Regions from separate parts of the Homo sapiens genome. Here region 2 is linked to region 1. Evidence: promoter capture Hi-C in 16 types of primary human blood cells and fetal thymus (Javierre and others, 2016). All regions are on one chromosome and are shown on one strand. The core of a region is centred on a gene start or on the middle of the fragment in contact, and the rest is flanking DNA. Distances in the headings are between cores, read along the strand shown.

What was found. The method cuts DNA at HindIII sites, captures the fragments that hold promoters and counts their contacts. A CHiCAGO score of 5 or more calls a contact.
Region 2: a fragment that was not itself captured here is called in contact with the fragment with the promoter of ITGB8 in region 1 in 1 of 17 cell types (monocytes); the score reaches 5.7 in monocytes.

The regions. Positions count from the first base shown.
Region 1 is chr7:20,329,450-20,332,149 of GRCh38, forward strand. It overlaps ITGB8 (integrin subunit beta 8), which reads left to right and starts at 1,451. Exons shown (of 14, transcript NM_002214.3): 1 at 1,451-2,484. The coding sequence starts at 2,358. ITGB8-AS1 (ITGB8 antisense RNA 1) reads right to left here and starts at 2,313. Exons shown (of 3, transcript NR_110120.1): 1 at 2,201-2,313; 2 at 1-64. RefSeq lists enhancers at 72-684, 772-841, 942-1,231 and silencers at 1,312-1,701, 2,172-2,411. The HindIII fragment of the contact is 8,395 bases long and covers 1-2,700 here.
Region 2 is chr7:20,575,327-20,578,026 of GRCh38, forward strand. No RefSeq gene overlaps it. Among named protein-coding and RNA genes, the nearest start is that of ABCB5, 39 kb to the right of the region's middle. The HindIII fragment of the contact is 2,702 bases long and covers 1-2,679 here.

The DNA.
Region 1 (2,700 bases), core at 201-2,700:
AATTTTCCAGCTGGGTTCCTGCTTTGCTTAACTAATCCTGTGCACCCCGTTGTGCGGTCCACACCTGAAAGGGGGAGTTTCGATGTTGTGGTTTATTAACCAGGTACTTTCCATTCACTCAGTCAACAGAAAGAAAGAGAGAGACCGCGCCTCCTACTTTTTTTTTTTTTTTTTTTTTAACTACAAATAAGGAGACGGAAACTATTAAATAAGAAGGGGGGAAACTCCCGCATATTTCACCTTGACCTGGCTGGACTGGTCTGCTGCCTCTAAGAGGCGGGTGTTGTATTAAAATGAGAGGTCAAACTCCTCGAATGGGAATCGCTCCTGCCCCTAGAGGGAAAAGAGAACCATCACCGTGTTAAACTGGAAACACTGCCTTGTTTCCAATGCGGGGGACTGAGTTCCCTCCCTCGACTTAGCGTGGTAATGACAGGACCCGAGGAGGCGCGCTGCTTCCGGGCAGTTGCCCAGCATAACACCCGCACCCTACTTGCACCTAAATTTCTGAGCTGCAAGCAGGCAGAAGTGCCTTCCACTTTCTCTCCTTAGCTCCCCTCTCCCCGCTTTGCTGCTGTCTGTAACTTTTTGTTCCGTTTACTGGGAAGGTGACGCTTAAGATCAAAAGACCCACTGTAACTTGCAAAAGCCCAGAGCCACCACCAGACGCTGGGGAAAAACAGGGCTGTCCAGTCCAGGGTTAAGGTTTTGAGCAGAGAAGGAGCAGCGAGAAATCTCGGCCAGTCGCTCCGGGAACAGCCCCTGCAGACTGGTCCAACTCTCCAAAGGCTAGGGACACCGGGGCAGCCTTGTGGTGGGGTAGAGGACGAGCTCCTAACTGCAAGCAAAGTGCTGAGTAGAGGGCGTTGGGGGCAGGGGAGGTCCCTTGACTCCACTTTGTATGCAGCAGCTGCGGGGCAGTGAGTATCTCCGAACAAAGCGGCGAGCAGCGCGGGGGTGAGAGATTGGGGTTTGCTCGCAGCTGCCGCTGGCGCTGAGCGAGTCTCCCACCACCCCCGCGAGCGTTGGGGTGCAAGGATTCGGGGGAGGAGGGAGAAGGGAACGAGGCGTGCCATTCCTGTTGCGCGGCTACGCTTCAGGAGTTCTTGTGAACGATGGGAATGGCAACTATCAGAGCCAAGGGGGAAAAGAAAGAGCTGGAGTGAGCAAAACAAAGAGCGAGTGTGGGCCGCGGTGACTTCATGCCTCACCAATGTCCCGCCCACGCTGCTCCGAGCTGTTACTGCTGCTCCTGCCCGGGCTGCAGCCGCGCCTGCGGGCAGCCGAGGCGAGGCGCTCCGGTAGCGTGGGGAGGTTTCCTAGCAACTCTCTGCCCTGAGTGCACCCGGCTACCCGCAGGTCTGGAGCCCCCCGGGGGGCCAGAGCAGGACCACCCCTCTCCCGCCCATCGCCGGCCTCGCCTCTCTCGCATCCTAGCCGTGTGCACCCCAGAGCGCGCCAGCAACTCGGGCTCTGGACTGCGGGACGCCTGAGCCGCGCACTGAGGCGAAAAGGACAAGGGCACGCAGCCCCCGCCCCGCGAAGCCGGGCTCCGGCACCTCGCGGAACCTCCCCTCCTGCGCTCGCAGCCGCAGGCCCCACTCCCCGCCAGGGAGGGAGCGGCGATGCCTCGCTCTGTGCCTGCGGGTGTCGGCGGGTGCTTCTAGGGCGCTCCCAGAGCCGCCTCCCCCTGTTGCTGGCATCCCGAGCTTCCTCCCTTGCCAGCCAGGACGCTGCCGACTTGTCTTTGCCCGCTGCTCCGCAGACGGGGCTGCAAAGCTGCAACTAATGGTGTTGGCCTCCCTGCCCACCTGTGGAAGCAACTGCGCTGATTGATGCGCCACAGACTTTTTTCCCCTCGACCTCGCCGGCGTCCCCTCCCACAGATCCAGCATCACCCAGTGAATGTACATTAGGGTGGTTTCCCCCCCAGCTTCGGGCTTTGTTTGGGTTTGATTGTGTTTGGCTCTTCGCTAAGCTGATTTATGCAGCAGAAGCCCCACCGGCTGGAGAGAAACAAAAGCTCTTTTCTTTGTCCCGGAGCAGGCTGCGGAGCCCTTGCAGAGCCCTCTCTCCAGTCGCCGCCGGGGCCCTTGGCCGTCGAAGGAGGTGCTTCTCGCGGAGACCGCGGGACCCGCCGTGCCGAGCCGGGAGGGCCGCAGGGGCCCTGAGATGCCGAGCGGTGCCCGGGCCCGCTTACCTGCACCGCTTGCTCCGAGCCGCGGGGTCCGCCTGCTAGGCCTGCGGAAAACGTCCTAGCGACACTCGGCCCGCGGGCCCCGAGGTGCGCCCGGGAGGCGCGAGCCCGCGTCCGGAAGGCAGTCAGGCGGCGGGCGCGGGGCGGGCTGTTTTGCATTATGTGCGGCTCGGCCCTGGCTTTTTTTACCGCTGCATTTGTCTGCCTGCAAAACGACCGGCGAGGTCCCGCCTCGTTCCTCTGGGCAGCCTGGGTGTTTTCACTTGTTCTTGGACTGGGCCAAGGTGGTAAGTTGTTTTGTTTTGTTTTGTTTTCTTCTCTTCCCCAAAGGTCTTGGGCTGGCACGAAGAGCTGCCCGGCCAGAGCATCCCGGCCAGGTAAGTTGCGGTCATCAGAGAACTTCAAGGGGGCGGGTGCGGGGCAGCGTCCTCCAGCACAGATGGCCTAGAGGCCAGGTGTCAAGCATTTCTGCCCTGGAGCGACAGCAAGGACTAATTATCAGA
Region 2 (2,700 bases), core at 79-2,578, 250 kb after region 1:
TCTAATCTTATAATGAAAAAAAATGGCATGTTTTTGGATAAAAGCTGGCTTTCTGACTGCATTGGATGGTTGGCAGGAACTGGAAATAAAACAAGCTATCCAACAACCACATTACTAAGAAGGCAGGCTCCTTTTACAAGATTTATTCCTAATTCTTTTGGGGTGAGAGAGCAAAATATGATAAGAACGAGGATTGCTTCTGATACTAGTTACACTCTGCTCGCCTCTCTCTTGTGCTCTGTCATTATCTCATTAATTCCCTGGGACCCAGCAAACACATTTATGTGGATGGTTCTGGCCCAGCTCCTGCTCTGCCCTCCAGATCAGCACTTCAGCCTCACACTTGACACATCCACCTGGATGTTCTGCCAACAATGCTGGCTCCAAAGTGTGTGCACCTCTGCCCTCTCCCTGCCTCCCTTTCCCTTGCCTTAATAAATCTCCCTTCTCACTTTTCTATTTCCTGTTGGCCACCATTATCTGTCACCCATCACTGAAGTCATGTATGGGTTCTTCTTTCATTGCCTCCCACCTAGATTCTCTATCAGCCTCCCTTCCAAGTGAAGCTCCTGTTTTACTGTGTACTATTGTCAAAGTCTCCAGGCTGTCCTTGTAGCAATCAGTTCTATGTTCTGTTTTAAGACGTGTCTACCCAGAGCACAGCTGTCACAAGCTACCATTGCCCCACATGGTGCATTTGTACAAATCAGGAAAGGCATCCCATCTTCAAGACACTTGACTTCCGTGTGTCAAGAAACTTCTCATTATATAGTACACTTATAATGACTAAAATACGGTCCTACGAAATATAGGTATCAACAGGGTCACCAGGTGAATGACACTGTCTAAGATTTTGCAGTGCACAATCTGCATACAAGACTCCAGGCAGCCCTGTGATCCTGTCATGCCTCAACTCCATACATTAAATGACCCCTCATCACCTGTGAAAATAAATGCAGACCCGTTAGCCTTGTGAGGAGATGCACCACACCTGGCTTCAGCCTGCATCTCCAGTAGTAGCTCCTATGCCTCACCTCCTCACATACATCTGCTCCACTCTTCCGGCAAACTTTCTCAGGACTCACACTTGCCTGTCATCACAGCTTTAATCATCTATCTGCCTGGTACATCCTTCCTCCATTTTTTCAACCTGTAAATATTTCACCCATTTTTCAAATGTCATTTCTCCTAAGAAGCCTTATCTTTTCTCCACCCCAAATAGGAAGTGAGCAATTTCTCCTTTGAATCCACTGTACTTTGTTTATACCTCAGTTACAATATGCATAATGTATTGCCTTTTATTATAGTTCCTGGCTCATTTGACTGATATGTGCCCGATGGTAAACTCTTTAAGGTAAAGGTTGTGTCTCATTTTATGATTTCTTCAGCACCAAGTTTAGGATTTTATGCAGAATAACTTTTTAATTCACCTAGTTGAACTAAATCAGTAAGTCTTGCTCCCAATAAGTTGATTGATTATAAGCATTCCTATTCCTTGGGAATCTTATCAAAAAGAAATTTTTTATTTTCTATTCAATTGCCAAAAAATGGAATTATAATTATGTTTCTGGTCTTTATATGTGCATTGTATTCCATTTGCTTTACTTCTACAATAACTAGGTAACCTTCCTGGTCTTAGATATATAACCCATAAGATATATGTTCACTATTGTATTTTGCTTAACCAAGCAGGATTGAATATGATTCTTTCTTTTCTTTGTTTTGTAAAGTTAGTCTATCCTTGATTTTATAGGTCTTCATTTCCCAACATCTGTACTGTATGAATAAGACAATTCTTATAAGAGGGTGAAAGTGGTTTCTTATTTTTTAAAAAACTGCTATTTTGAGAGCAGCTCACAAGTAATAATATGACAAGAAGTATTTTTGGTCTTACACCTGCGGAGACTACTATGCCACTGTGGGTTTTAAAGAGATCAAAATCTCAACTGAGTTAAGAGCTTTTAATTCTTTTTATCACTTTGCTGTTAAAACTATACTTAGTGGTAAGAAAAATAATAATTATTTTTATTAGATTTGGATTAATTGATAAATATGTGATAAATGCATGGCTTTTAAAGATTACAAATGTTTTATGGGACCCATAGATTCCTAGATTCCTAGACCTGTGTCAAAAACTAGACCATGGATGGCAATTAAAGATGGTGATGCTCAATGACACAGAGATATAAATGCAAATGAAGTTGGCAATATTTATATTCTAAAACCACCTTAAAGCCCCTGCTATGTCATACTTCCTCTAATGAGGGAGCTTAACAGATAAACACTGACCTTTGTATTCAATTGCCCTCTGAAATGAAAGCAAAGAAAAAGTTTGCTATTCCTCATAAACTAATTTTCTACCTTTTTATCAAATTCAGAATATAGTTTCCCTTTCTGTTTTGGCTTCCAGGGAAATCAGAGTTAACTGAGATTGAGCTCTTATTTTTCAGGCCTGAAAATACATGTAATCCAGATGTTGAGGAACTAACTCACATCGTGGTAATTTTAAACCACAGGGATTTAAAGGTCACTTGGTCTAACATTCCCACTCAAATCTGAAATCCCTCTACAGCTTCTCTGACACGTGGCCATTTTAGCTGCACTTGAATGTTTCTAGTACACACAGCTCATGATTTCATGAAGGAGTTCTTCCCCCAGGGTTAGTTCTAAAATTCAGAAAGCTTACAATGTAGTGAAATT